Linked DNA regions of Homo sapiens: all the other regions are linked to region 1. The links are contacts of gene promoters, found by promoter capture Hi-C in blood cells and fetal thymus (Javierre and others, 2016). All regions are on one chromosome and are shown on one strand. The core of a region is centred on a gene start or on the middle of the fragment in contact, and the rest is flanking DNA. Distances in the headings are between cores, read along the strand shown.

What was found. Contacts are between HindIII fragments. The CHiCAGO score rates a contact against its expected background, and 5 or more counts as called.
Region 2: a fragment that was not itself captured here is called in contact with the fragment with the promoter of ACOXL in region 1 in 4 of 17 cell types (neutrophils, erythroblasts, total B cells and 1 more); the score reaches 8.5 in neutrophils.
Region 3: a contact is called between a fragment that was not itself captured here and the fragment with the promoter of ACOXL in region 1, in 4 of 17 cell types (neutrophils, naive B cells, erythroblasts and 1 more). The highest score is 8.5, in neutrophils.
Region 4: a contact is called between a fragment that was not itself captured here and the fragment with the promoter of ACOXL in region 1, in 7 of 17 cell types (total B cells, total CD8 T cells, naive B cells and 4 more). The highest score is 9.9, in total B cells.

The regions. Positions count from the first base shown.
Region 1 is chr2:110,730,756-110,734,248 of GRCh38, forward strand. It overlaps ACOXL (acyl-CoA oxidase like), which reads left to right and starts at 1,818. Exons shown (of 18, transcript NM_001142807.4): 1 at 1,818-2,019. It overlaps LOC124906064 (a long non-coding RNA gene), which reads right to left and starts at 1,670. Exons shown (of 3, transcript XR_007087181.1): 1 at 1,599-1,670; 2 at 1,081-1,149; 3 at 606-880. The HindIII fragment of the contact is 3,688 bases long and covers 505-3,493 here.
Region 2 is chr2:111,718,452-111,721,944 of GRCh38, forward strand. No RefSeq gene overlaps it. Among named protein-coding and RNA genes, the nearest start is that of MIR4771-2, 51 kb to the right of the region's middle. RefSeq lists an enhancer at 1,761-2,655. The HindIII fragment of the contact is 3,818 bases long and covers 1-3,493 here.
Region 3 is chr2:111,684,913-111,688,405 of GRCh38, forward strand. No RefSeq gene overlaps it. Among named protein-coding and RNA genes, the nearest start is that of MIR4771-2, 84 kb to the right of the region's middle. The HindIII fragment of the contact is 5,700 bases long and covers 1-3,493 here.
Region 4 is chr2:111,637,400-111,640,892 of GRCh38, forward strand. No RefSeq gene overlaps it. Among named protein-coding and RNA genes, the nearest start is that of MIR4771-2, 130 kb to the right of the region's middle. The HindIII fragment of the contact is 168 bases long and covers 1,524-1,691 here.

The sequences.
Region 1 (3,493 bases), core at 568-3,067:
CATGTCCAGGGTGGTACCTCCCTTCCCCCATCGAGACAGGAGTGAGCTGCTTTGTCCAGTGGATTGTGAGTAGAAGTTATGTGTGTCTCTTCCAGCTGGAAGCTTTAAAAGCCAGTGTGGCCACACAATCATGGCTGTTCTGTCAGCCAGGACCTGGACCGAGGGGACATGGAACAGAACCCCCAGGTAGCATGAGTGAGAAATAAACTCTTGTCTTTTTAGGCCCTAAGATTTGAGGAAGTGTATGTGAAGTCGTTTCGGGGTTGTTTGTTACCACTACACTATTTTGGCTGATATAGAAGGAAATACTCCTCTTCTGCTTTGCACAGGGTGGTGCTTGGAGCTGCAGCATCCATCTTACAACTGGTAGAAGACAAGTTAAAAAAAAAAAGGTAACGATTACATATAGAGAAAGGATGGCGGATGGTGGAGCAGAAAGATGCAAAGGACCTGGGTCCCCAGGGTAGAGCCATCAAATTCACCCCTGGGGCTTTCCTACCACCAAGCTTCCTGTGATGTGAGAAAACAAAGCCCCTTTTATCATGGATGACTGGGTATTATTACTCGCAGCTGCACAGGTGTGGTAGACAGAGGAATGACTCGCCAAAGGTGCTCATGTTTTAATCCCTAGTACCGGAGAGTGTGTTTCTGATATGGCAAAATGGACATTGCTGGTGTGATTAAAGTATGGATCTTGTGGTGGGAAGATTATTCCCATTGACCATGGATTATTCCCATGGGTCCCATGTAAACAAGTCCAAGGGAGGCAAGAAGGTCAAAGTCAGTAGAAGATGGAACGATGAAAGCAGAGCTTGAAGTGATGCATTTTGAAGACAGACGAAGGGGCCAGGAGCTAAGAAATGCAGGCAGCCTCTAGGAGCTAGTAAAGACAAGGAAATGCATTTTTCCCTGGAGCTGTGAGAAGGAACCCAGCTCTGCCAACACCTTGATTTTAACCCTGTAAGTCCTATTTTGGACTTCTGACTTCCAGAAATGTAAGAGAATAAATTGGTGCTATCTTAAGCCACTCACTTTGTGGGAATTTGTTACTGGAAACGAATACAGATGGCATCCACTAACCTCACGACAGCAGACCACACCATCATCTCCCCAGCAAAGTAGCCTCTGGAAGGGAACGGCTAACATTTCCTTGAGTATTTAAAAGGAGAATCAACAAGGTATATGAGAATTAGGGAGCAGAAAGGAAGGAACATTTTCCACTTAGGTTATAACTCATTTTCCTCCAGCCACAACAAAAAAAGGAGTGTCCTGGGAAATGAGTATCGTGTTCCGGTCGATCACCTCGTCATGAATGCAGCTTCCAGCTACCCTGGACTGCAGTGCTGTAGACCTGGGACGCCTTTAGATTACCGTGATATTAGAGTTCACAGTAATGCCCAGTGCGGGGAAGAGGTGAGATACAGCTGAGGAGGGGCCAGAGCTGGAGCCAGGCTATCTTGGGTCGTGGGGGTCAGGCAAAGTGGCTGGCCGGGAGATCTGCTGAGTGGGTCAGCCGGTCAGTCCTGAGCAGCCGGGCCTCTGGTGCCCAGGTCCACGTGACTGGCACCCTTTCTAGGGGTCTAGTACTTGTTTCTTACGGCTCACAAATCTTGAGGGACAGTTGATAACTGGAGGGTAGAGTTTTCGCTTCCTCGGAAGGGCAAGGGGAGGCCACCGTAGAAGCGCCCGCTCGCGCCGGACCTCCCGCCCGGGAAGCCAGGGCAGGGCGGGGCCGGGGAGGGAGGGGAGAGGAAGGTGAGGAGGGAGGAGACGGGCCGGGAGGGGTGGAGAGGGAGAGGGCGTGCGCCTGGGGCCTCACCTGCTGGGAGCTGGAGGAGGCGCGGAGCGAAGCCGGCCCTGCCAGCCACGCGGAGAAGCAGAGGCAGGTGAGCGCGATGCAGCCGGCGCCGGGTCTGGGGCTCGGGGACTCCTCCCTGCACCGCTACCTGGACGGCGACTTCTGGAGCCTCAAGAACGAGCTGCGCGGACTCCTCGGCGGCGCCCGCTCTTCCGGCAAAGGTACCGCGCTGCGGCCGTCGCCCCTGCCCGCGCCCCCGAAGCCGCCGAGCGTGTCCCCTCGGTCCCCGGAGCGTCGCTGCGGACAACGCCCTGGCGAGGGCGAGGTGGGGTGTGCGCCGCGCCTGAGAGGCGGGTCCCTGCCTCGCCGCAGGTGACGGGCTCCCCTCCCCAGGTGTGTGGGCGCAGCCGGCCGCCGCCGACCTCTTCGGCCCCCTGAGAGGTGCCCTCTCCTCCCGAGCTCCCTCCCCCACGAAGAGTCGGGTGCAGGGCTGGGCCCCGCGGTGACAGGCGCGGTGTCTACGAAGACCGTGTGGCTGGAAGATCGGCCTTGCTGGTTTGTTGAACCTGTTTCTTGAGTCCCCGCCCCGCGATGTCCCACCCTTGGTGGGGAGAAGGGGACAGAAAACCGCGATGGGATGGGCGCACAGGGATGGAGTGGCCCTGTCCAGGGCGTGTCTGGGCGTCGGGGTGGGACAGGCTTACAGGACCCCCTCGGAGTGCAGGTGTGCGGAATGGGCAGCTTCAGCGGGGCGGTTTGGTTATAAGAAGAACTCAGGTCCTCGATGTCATCCGATGCCAGGACAGCCCTGAGAAGCAGGCAGAGGGTTGAGTGCTTGAGCTGCACTGGAGATAGAGAGATGGTTCAGTCACCGGACAGTCAGGACCAGAACTCGGCATTCGTGTCTCCTGTGGGCTCTCTTTCTCATACCCATTTCAAGCAGTCTGAAAAGCCCAGTTGGAGGCATGCTTTGGAGTTCTAGCTTAAGAAAGGCCCTATTAAAAATGTCAGTATGTGCCCGTGGAGGATTAATTGGTTAGCCATGCCCACTTAGCCCTCGTTTAATTTATTTTGCGGAAATGAGAGGGAAGGAGATGGCTTGAGTGAACGTCAGGCTGTCCTTGGAGAATCTGGGGTTCCTGCACTGAGGTTACCTAGTGGGGAGTTGGGGGCGTTTGAAAGTTGAAAAGTGAGAAGTGTGGGATGGTGGGTATATCCATCAGTGTCTCGCCGACTTCTCTTTCCCTCTCTCTCATACATAGTTCTTTAAGTTATGGTTCTCAAAGTGTGGTACAGGGAGCCCTGGGGGGACCCAAGAGCATTTCAGGCGGTTCATGAGTACAAACTGTTTTTATAGTAATACAAAAAAAGTTATTAGCTTTTTCACTCTCATTCTCTCACTAATGTACAGTGGCAGTTTCCAGAGACCACATGATGTGTAGTATTCCAGCAGAAAAAATATAGAAGCAGACATGAGAATACAGCTGCTTTCTATTAAGACAGACAGTAAAGGGATTTGTAAAAATATAGAACGATGCTACTCTTCTTGCTAACTTTTTTTGTTTTGGAAAATAGTTATTTTCATAAAATACACTAATAGATTTATTAGTTATTTTCAAATGAATTAATAAACATTTGAAAACTTTTCTGTTTTAATTTCTAATACGGGAAATATCAGTGGATATAACCCACCCA
Region 2 (3,493 bases), core at 348-2,847, 990 kb after region 1:
GCCTCCCAAGTAGCTGGGATTACAGGTGTGTGTCACCACACCCGGCTAACTTTTTGTATTTTTAGTAGAGACAGGGTTTCACCGTGTTAGCCAGGATGGTCTCGATTTCCTGACCTCGTGATCCGCCCACCTTGGCCTCCCAAAGTGCTGGGATTACAGGCGTGAGCCACCGCGCCCCGCCGCAACACAATTTTTTAGTGAAGAATTAGGTTTTCATTTTCAGAGGCATTTCAAATAGCAAGGAGAGTGCACATTGCTTGTATTATATGATACATCACGTTTTCAAGGGTATCTGCTGGCTGGGCATAGTGGCACATGCCTGTAATCCCAGCACTTTGGGAGACTGAGGCAGGAGGATCGCTTGAGGCCAGGAGTTTGAGACCAGCCTGGACAAATAGTGAGACCCTGTCTCTACAAACAATAAAATATTAGCCAGATATGGTGACCACTGCACTGTAGTCCCAGCTACTTGGGAGGCTGAGGTGGGAGGATTGCTTGAGCCTGGGAGGTGAAGGCTGCAGTGAGTTATGTTGGTGCCACTGCAGTCCAGCTTGGGCAGCAGAGCAAGCCCCTGTCTCAAAAAATAAAAAAAGAATATCTGAAATGTTGTGGGGGGGAAAGCCTATAGAGTAAAAAATTAAAGTTCTTTACTCTCCATCTGTGCCAATGGTTTAGTGTGCAATCTTACAGAACTTTATATATTTGCATACATACAGATAAAAATCTGCTACATATATCATTCCATCACTTACATTCTTTATTTAACAATTTGTCGTAAAGATTGTTTTTTAGCCATGTCTGGCTAATTTTTTTCATTTTTTGTAAAGACAGGGAGGGGCTCACTATGTTGCTCAGGCTGGTCTCAAATTCCTGAGCTCAAGTGATCCTCCCTCCTCAGCCTCCCAAAGCTCTGGGATTACAGGCCCAGGCCACCTTGCCCAGCCTGTCATAAAGATCTTTTAATAAAAGATCTTTAATTGCTTCTTTTAATTGCTGGCTGCCTCCACTGAATCACTTACCGAAGCCCTGAGAGGGAATCACAGTTCGCAGGTGATTGGGATGCCGGGGGACGCACCTGAGGGCTGGGCTGAGTTTCACTTAAAAAAAGGTCCAGGCCAGATGAGGGGACATCAGATCACTCAGTGGCCTCCTTCTCACCAGATTCTGTCTGACTCTCTTCGGGGCTGAGCTAAAGGCAGATGCTGCATTCAAATTCCATATCCTTCCAGCTGGAGCTCCCCATTCCTAGAGAAACCTCAGCTTTGTGTCTCCCACGGAGACACTAGAATGGGCAAGCCTGAGTGCGTGGCTTTGAGGGACAGAGTCCCCACCCACAGAGCTCTCACAGCTGGCAGCCACCCCGACACCCACAGCTCTTTCAGAATGGAAAGCCCGGGGCCTTGCAGCTCGCCCTGCTCCGAACACTGTGCGAGGCTTTGTAATGAGCTACCCTGGAAGTGTTTTTCAAGAAGACGGTGATCTCATTACACAAATCCACCATCAGTTGAGGGAAGAGAGGCAGGGCTGGCTTTCTAAGGCCACTGTATATGACCTAAGGAGCCCACATTGCCAAAAAAATAGTCACCCACTGATTTCAAACACCCACTTCTTTGCATGAAGGGCTGCGTTCCCCTCATCACCACCCCCACCCTTTTCATCCCTGGTACAGCTACCTCCAGCCATTCCCCCTAGGGGTCTTCCCTGGGACTCATCTGCCACTTGTTCCTCCTCAGCTGGGGTCACCAACCAAGTTGGGAACAAGTTATTCCTCCTTAATAACAAGAGGCAAAGCCCTATCCAAAAACAGGGGTCTGCCTTATTCACTAAATCCAGTTTTCAAAAAAAGACCCTCATCGGACTCATTTATAAATGATTTAATTTTAGGGATTGCTAGCTAGATGAGTAGATAGGAAGGATAAGAAGCTAAGTATGGGAGAAGAATGTGCAAGAATAAGGTGAAAGAATGTTCTCCATTCACAATGCTGTTTACATGCATCCAGCTGGCTGGCAACGCCGCTGAGCACTCAGCCTTCAGTGGACCTTCCAAACCATGGCAGGCACTCGGAGTCCACAGGGACGCAAAGGACCATGCTCTACCTCTCAGTAGGCTGTGTAGGCCAACCACTCTGGAATCCACAGGCACCAGTCACCAGCCCCACCCTCACCTTCGAGCCAGGCTCCTGTGGTCACCGTCTCATGGTGATGGCAAAAAGCTCCTCTTTTGCTCCCTGTGACCCCCTGCCCCCTCTTTGGTGTGGCTGGGGGCAGGAGGGAGGCCCTCACTGTGCTCTGGCCTCAAGGTAGAGTAGCCACAAGACAATCACCCTGTCAAACTTCAGCGGAGTTCCCGTGTGCTCTTCTGGTAAAAGGGCTTCTTTGTAGCATTGAGCTGTATATGCAACGTATCCTCTTGTGTGTGAGTGTGCATGTGTATGAGTGTGTGTGTGCCTGCGTGTGTGTGTATGTGTGTTAGAGATACACACATATAGGCCCCAGGAAGGAGTGAGGAAGGGGAAAGAAACCAGCATTTATTGCACTATGTATAAATTTTCAAAATTCATCCGTGACTAACACAAGAAGCTGTGTCCCACCTGAACAGGTAAACTTGCGTAGTTATTTCAGAACAGCAGCCCCATCTCCATCCCAATCAGGGTAATATTTTCCACTGAACTGAGTCAATAAGGTAAACAAACCCATTTGCCCAAGAGGCAAACAACAAGGTAGGTTAGAAACATAGCTTTCTGGATACTGCTCCTAGTGAAAGCATCTGGCAAAAAAAAAAAAGAAGAAGGAAAAAAAAAGCATTTCAAATGAAACCCAGGGGACAAATACCTTTAAAAGTTGCAAAGGAGAAAGGCGTCTACACAAAGCAGCATGTTCCAGGATTCCCCATTATTTCAGGACAGACCCATTCAAGGATCAGAGTGGGTCTGTGAACTCAGAGTGACCGTGCCTCACCCCGCCTGGCCCAGCTCTCTCTGAGTGCAGTCACAGGCCTTCCCCACCAGAAAAATCCATCAGCTCCTCTTCAGGCTTCACTCGGGGCACTGACTTCAGCTATCGTCCAGCCATGTAGCTTCAGAGACACAGAAACTTAAAGCTCACTGACCTACAGTATAACCCAAAACCTTCTTGGTTCAATTTTTCTTACCAATGTTTTTTAATGTTCAATCAATGATTTTAGAAAGAAATGAACCACTTTATTTTGAGACTGAGTCTAGCTCTGTCACCAGGCTGGAGTGAAGTGGCAGGATCTTGGCTCACTACAACCTCTGCCTCCTGGGTTGAAACAATTCTCCTGCCTCAGCCTCCCAAGTAGCAGGGACTACAGGCACACGCCACCATGCCCAGCAAATTTTTTTGTATTTTTAGTAGAGATGGGGTTTCACCATGTTGGCCAGGATGGTCTCAATCTCTGGACCTCAGGTGATACGCCCACCTCAGCCTCCCAAAGTGCTGGGATTACAGGCGTGAGCCACCGTGCCTGGTCCAT
Region 3 (3,493 bases), core at 303-2,802, 950 kb after region 1:
TGTTGTTTTCTAGAGGACCAAGGGAAGATTCTGCAAGCTCATTTAAGTTGTTGGATGAATGAATTGTAGAGTGGAAGTCCCTACAGAACCACAAGGAAACTGAACTCTCCTTGTTGGCGGCCATCAATATTCCCTGCCATTTCTTACACCCCAGCAATTGAGTATCTCCCTCGCATCCACCCCTCTTAGATTCCAAATCTCTTGCACCAACAAGAGCCCGGGCCTTTCTAAAGGCTCACCCAATTAGGTCAGGCTCACCCAGGATAGTCTCTTTTCTTTACAGTCAACTTATTTGGGACCTTAACTACATCTGCAAAATCCCTTCATGGCAGCACCTCAATTCGTGTTTGACTGAACAGGTGGGAGAAGCCGTGTGTAAGCCAGGGGGACAAGCATCTTCGGCACCATCTTAGAAGTCCACCTACCACAGTGGTTTAGCCTTGGTTCACAGGCCTCATTGTCTTCTTTATTCCAAAAGAGCAAGAAAGGTTCCCTTTCTTCTAATTATTTCAATATGCTAGAAAATGAAACTTATTTTGGAGCTGACAATCTATTCTGTGGCCAAATTGGCAAAATTTCAGAGACCAAATAAGATCTAGCCTACTCTGAAACCTGTTTGCACAGGGCCTGGTCTTAAAGTATCTTATCAGTTATTGCTATCATCAGAACAGCAGGGCACCTCCAGAGAATTCAGGCCCCATCCCAGACCTGCTCTTCCAGAATCTGCCTGTCAACAAGATTCCTGATCATTCATATGCACTTTCAAGGGTTTTTTGGGGGTTTTTTTCTTAATTTTTTATTATAGGTTATTGGGGAACAGGTGGTGTTTGGTTACATGAGTAAGTTCAATAGTGATTTGAGATTTTAGTGCACCCATCACCCAAGCAGTATACGCCGCACCCAATTTGTAGCCTTTTTTTTTTTTTTGAGACGGAGTCTCGCTCTGTCGCCCAGGCTGGAGTGCAGTGGTGCGATCTCAGCTCACTGCAAGCTCCGCCTCCCGGGTTCACGCCACTCTCCTGCCTCAGCCTCCCGAGTAGCTGGGACTACAGGCACCTGCCACCATGCCCAGCTAATTTTTTGTATTTTTAGAAGAGACGGGGTTTCACCGCATTAGCCAGGATGGTCTCGATCTCCTGACCTTGTGATCCGCCTGCCTCGGCCTCCCAAGGTGCTGGGATTACAGGCGTGAGCCACTGTGCCCGGCCCAATTTGTAGTCTTTTATCCCTCACTCCCTTCCCATTCTTTCCCCGAGTCCCTAAAGTCCATTGTGTCATTCTTGGGCCTTTGCATCCTCGTAGCTTAGCTCCCACTTATGAGTGAGAACATATGATGTTTGGTTTTCCATTCCTGAGTTACTTTGCTTAGAATAATAGTCTCCAACGTCATCCAGGTTGTTGCAAATGCCATTCATTCATTCATTTTATGGCTGAGTAGTATTCCATTGCATACATATACCACAGTTTCTCTATCCACCCATTGATCGATGGGCACTTGGGTTGGTTCCACGTTTTTGCAATTATGAATTGTGCCGCTATAAACATGCATGCCTGTGCACTTTCAGGTTTGAGGAGCATTGGTGTCAACCACATGCCCGAGGACCAGAAATAAGTCATTTTTCTCTGGAAAATGCACTGAAGACGTGGTGAAGATTAAACAGCATGTCACCCCCTCCTCCACACAACTCACATTCATCCCTGCCCAGGCCAAGCCTTGGTAATGGATTAGGTCTATCCTATATCTAGTGTTATGGTTTAAATGCATGCGTACCTTCAAAATTCATATGTTGGAACCTAACCCCCAAGGTAATGGTATTAAGAAGTGGGGTCCTTGGGAGATGATTAGGCCACGAGGGCTCCACTCTAATGGATGGGATTATGCCCTTCTAAAAGAGGCCTCAGAGAGCTGCCGCCCCCATTTTGCCCCTCTACCCTGTAAGGACACCAAGATGCTGCCATCTATAAGGAATAGGCTTTCACCAGACACTGAACCTGCTGACACCTTGATCTTGGACTTCTCAGTCTCCAGGACTGTGAGAAATAAACTTCTATTACCTATAAATTACCCAGTCTGTAGTATTTCTGTGGCCTAAACTAAGACATCTAGCCAAGCTAGAGGACTCTCTTAACTTAGGCAATATTTCCCTAAAATCATTCCCATGTCCTGTGTTGCAGGCCTGAAGCTGGTGACTGAGGTGAGGCAAGTGCAGAGCTGACCCAGTGGGCTGGTTAGGGACCTTCTCTGTGACCCGGCGTAATAAGCACTGCCCTCACAGGGTCATAGGTGAAGCAGCTGGCATGGAATCAGTGCCCAGAGCAGGGCAGAGAGAGAAAGGAGAGTATGACGAGGCCACCTGCTCACTGAATAACTTCTAACAGCTTTCCAAGTCATCTGAGGCTGGTGTTCAGCTCCTCTTTCCAGCACATCTTCTGCCCCAATTAATTCTGGGACCCACCATGTGTCCAGAGAAACGGGCACTCTGGGAAGCAGCCTCTGTCACTGGCCCCTTGGGCCTCTCATCATTACTCCACAGCTGTCTGCATCAGGAACCACAAGTCCATTATTGGGAGGCAGGATGCCTGCACTCTGGAAGCAGCCCTGGGTTCAAATCCTTTCTCACCGCTTTCCAGCCATGTGATAGTTTTGGCACAGTGCTGAAGCTCTCTGACTGATATTTTCCTTGGATACCTAATTCTCTTGGTTTGGCTTTCTCTGCCAGATGGTCATCACTGCCCAGGGCTAGGAGGGCCTTGGTTTTCAACTGCAGCCCCAACTTCTGGTGCTCACTGGGGTCACTCAGGTACACTGATTGATAGAGGAACACTCTCAAGGGTCTCAGATCAGCACTTAACAGTATCACTTCAGCTCACAGCGAATTGGCCAGGACTGGTCACACTCTCCACCCAGCCATGAGGAGCAGGAGGTGCCAGCTGCCACACTAGGAAGTGGAGACTGTCCAGTGAGCACTGCTTATAATTGATGGAGAATGTGAGGATGGTCTCAAGGCCTCCAAAACCCCCCTTTTGGCCTCCCACGTTCTCAAAGCATTCTGAGACGGCAGGACATGATCTGAGGTGCCCTGGAGCCCTCTCTCTAACAGCAGATTTTCTGATGGATAACGAGGGGGCAGGGGTGTGTGTGGACTCAGTTCTTGGGGTGAGCACAGACCGATCTCCAACTCCCCAGGCTCGCCCCAGCACCCGCGGAGCTGCGGGGCCTGTGTTGGCCCGCAGGTTTCCTATTCCATCATCCTGCAAGAAGATGGGGCTTCCCTAACAGAACCCAGACCTGTCACGCTGGTGAGGGGCTTCCCTGGGCCAAGAAGTCCCAGAGCCTGGCTGCTCGGTTTGTCATCTGTCAGAACACCAGCTCTGCTGCAGACTTTGAGGCTGGGCAGCCTGCTTTCTAGTCCCTTTTACTTCCCAGCAGAGTGACTGTGAGCAAGTCACATGACTTTAAAGTGACCAAAAGGTTCACTTGTTGGTCCTCAGT
Region 4 (3,493 bases), core at 358-2,857, 910 kb after region 1:
CCAGTATCTATGTGGGACAAAACAAAGTTTAGATTCCTACCTCACACCATACACACAAAAATGAATTTTAAGTGAATTAAAGAACAAACATAAAATACACACTATAGAAGCATTACAAAAAAACTGTAAGATCACATTTTGGTAAATCTAGAGTAGAGTAGAAATGCAATGCAACAGCTATAAAGAAAAGGACTACATACATATCTCAATTATGTACAACAACAAAAATAGAGTTTGAAAACAACAGATTGGAACAAAAAAATTTGCAACACACATTGTCAATAAAGAATTAGTGTCCAAAATTTATAGGCAATTTCATAAGAAAACAGTAATAATCCTCTTTTTAAAATAGGAGGATGTGGATAGGCAATTTACACAAAGAGAAACCCGCACAAAGTAGCTAAGAGGATACCCAACCTTGCTAGTCCCTGCACTAAGGGCTACCACCTCCAACTGGCTGTGGGGAAGAAAGAAGGAAGAGGCAATCACAAAGTCTTGGACTTGAACTCTTTTAGGAGAATTGCAAAACAGTGATGAAGGAAAAGAACTTCAGTGGGTTAAAAGGAGGCATTATCCAAAGATATCTACCACCAAAATCTGAATCTTGACTTAAAGGTCCTCTATGATTTACCAGAAGTTGTGCCTCAAAATTTCTGGAACTTTGAGAGAAGCACAAATTCTTTTATGTTTCCATCTGCACCAAAAACAAGATCACACATTGTTTTCCTTTTTGGATCACACATTCCGAAGCCAATCTTAGGTATACTCTTCAAAACTCACCCACATGTCAATCAGGCACAAGGCTTTTTTCTGGCAAAAAGCACCCAGGTCTTCTTCCCAGGCATGCAACATAAAACCTAGTCAATGTCTTAGAAACTACAAACCCAGGCTTACCCACAAAAACACCACCCCTGGGGGCCCAAGCCAGCAGAGCCCTGGTGGAGAGCTCTCAACCATGTGATGCATTAAAAGCTAAGCTAAGGGGCAGAATTACCAGCTAACAATCAAGAGAACATCAGGGGATATGGACCAGGACGGGGGATGACATGATAGTTATATTGGTATTCACAGCAAGTCACGTGGCACCCGAGGGCATGACAGCCTGCCTTAGAGACGAGCACTCACCTTCATGAATTACCACATTTAACCATCCTATTGTTTTAATTGTGATAAAATACATGTAACCCAGTAGTTCACCATCTGAGCTATTTTTAAGTGTACTGTTCAGTGGCATGAAGTACATTCACATTATTGTGTAACAATCACCACCATCTATGATGGGTTTCATCATCCCATTTGAAACTCCATACCCATTAAACATTGGCTCCCTACTCCCCTCTCCCTGCCTGCCCCTGGCAACCACCATTCTACTTTCTGTCTCTATGAATTTGACAACTCTAGATACCACAAATAAGTGGAAGCATATAGTATCTGTCTTTTTGTGACTGGCTTATCTCACTCAGCATAATATCCTCAAGGTTCATCCATGCTGTTGCATATGTCAAAGTGTCTTTTCTTTTTAAAGCTTAATTGTTTTCCATTTTATGGACATACCACATTGTTTATCCATTTATCCATCTATGGACACTTGTGTTGCTTCCACCTTCTGGCTATTAAGAAACCATCCTATTTCCCATGGCATTCAGAAGATTCCACAGCCTTCTAGTAATTCATTGCAAAGCCTTGCAGTAAGCTTTGTTTTTCCCAAGTTAGTCTCATGTCTAACCTAAGTCCTCTGTGTTGTCGTAAGGCCGTCTATTCCTTGTGTTCACTGAAGGCTCTGCCTGGCTCTACCACTTACCAGTTGAGGGCCTTGAGCAGCAGCCTTCGCCCTCCACCTTTCTGCACCTTAGTTCTGTCATTGGTAAAAGGGAAAATCCTCGCAGAGCTTTGGGTAATCCTAAGAGAGCTAATGCACATACAGCACCTGACCCTGGGCCTGACACATAGTAGGGGTGCAATATTGGTATCACACTGAAAGAAGCATGATTTGTAGATTTTTTAAAAGTTGTCAATCTTCTGTACTCAATCTAAGTTCTTTGAACTCTTTCAGATGCCATGTTTTCTAGTCAAGCCCGCAGGGGTGTGTGTGTGTGTGTGTGTGTGTGTGTGTGTACATGGACACATGTGTGTTGCCACTGAGCCACTTTCACACAGATGCCAGCTGAGGCATCCATTCTCCCTTCCTTCCACAGGCTGGCTCAGAGCTGAGATGCAGGGCCATGCTGTCAGAGCCAGTCAGTCTGAGGGCACAGATTAGCATAATTTCAGCCACCTCGAGGATCCACATCTCTCCACATCTCACCACCTAAACATCCAGAAACTCCCTCTCGGCTAGTGCTGAAGGAAGAGAACTTCAGTCAGCCTCTCCCCTCTCTTCCTCTTCGCCTTTGGGGCAAGTCTTTCCTCGAGATGAGGGAGCTCTCAACCCCAAGGCCAATGCATTCTGAATGAGGATGATGATTGTGATGGTATGGTAGGAAGAATAGCTGCCCTACAAAGATATCTGCCTAATAATTCCTAGAACCTGAGTATAAAGATATTACGGGTTCCAGAATAATAGGTTACTGGTTATGTGACAAAAAGGAATAAGGTTGCAGAAGGAATTAAGGTTGTTAATCAGCTGACAGAGTGATTACTCTGGATTACCTAGTGGGCCCAACTGAATCACCTGAGCTATTAAAAACAAAAGAGGGATCAGGCATGGTGGCTCCTGCCTGTAATCCCAGGGCCAAGGGAGGCCAAGGCAGAAGAATTCCTTGAGGCCAGGAGTTCAAGGCCAGCCTAGGCAACCCCATAGTAAGACCCCACCTCTACAATAAAAATAAAAAATAAAAAAAAGATAGAGCAGCAGAAGAGTTGGTCAGAGATGTAATGAGAAGGGCTCAACCCACCATTGTTGGCTTTGAAGATGGGGGAAGGAAGCCACAAGCCAAGAAATGTGATGGCCTCCAGAAGCTGGGAATGGCCCTCAGTCTACAGCGAGCAAGAAAATGGAGAATTCAGTCCTACAACCACACGGAACTGAGTTCTGCAAATAACCCAGATAAACAAGGAAAGAGATTCTCCCCTAGAGTCTCCAGAAAGAAACATAGGTCTGTCAACACCTTGATTTTCACATAGTGAGATCCATGTTGTACTTCTGACCTCCAGAATGGTAAGATGGTAGATCTGTGTTGTTTTATGTCACAGAGTTTGTGATGATTTGTTACTGCAACAATAGAAAGTAATACCTATGGTCATAATGCATGCATTGCATCAGGCCTTTGCTGAAAGCTTTACATGCCTGGTCTTGTTCAATCTTCACTACAGTCCTGTTAGGTAACTATTGCTGTCGTCACCTCCATTATATGGAAGGGGAGTGTATTCATTTGCTAGGGCTGTCATAGCAAACGACTGCAGACCTTGTCTCCAAGTACAGCTACATTCTGAGGTACTGGGGGTTAAGACTTCAACATATGGATTTGGGAGGATACAATTCAGCCCATAACAG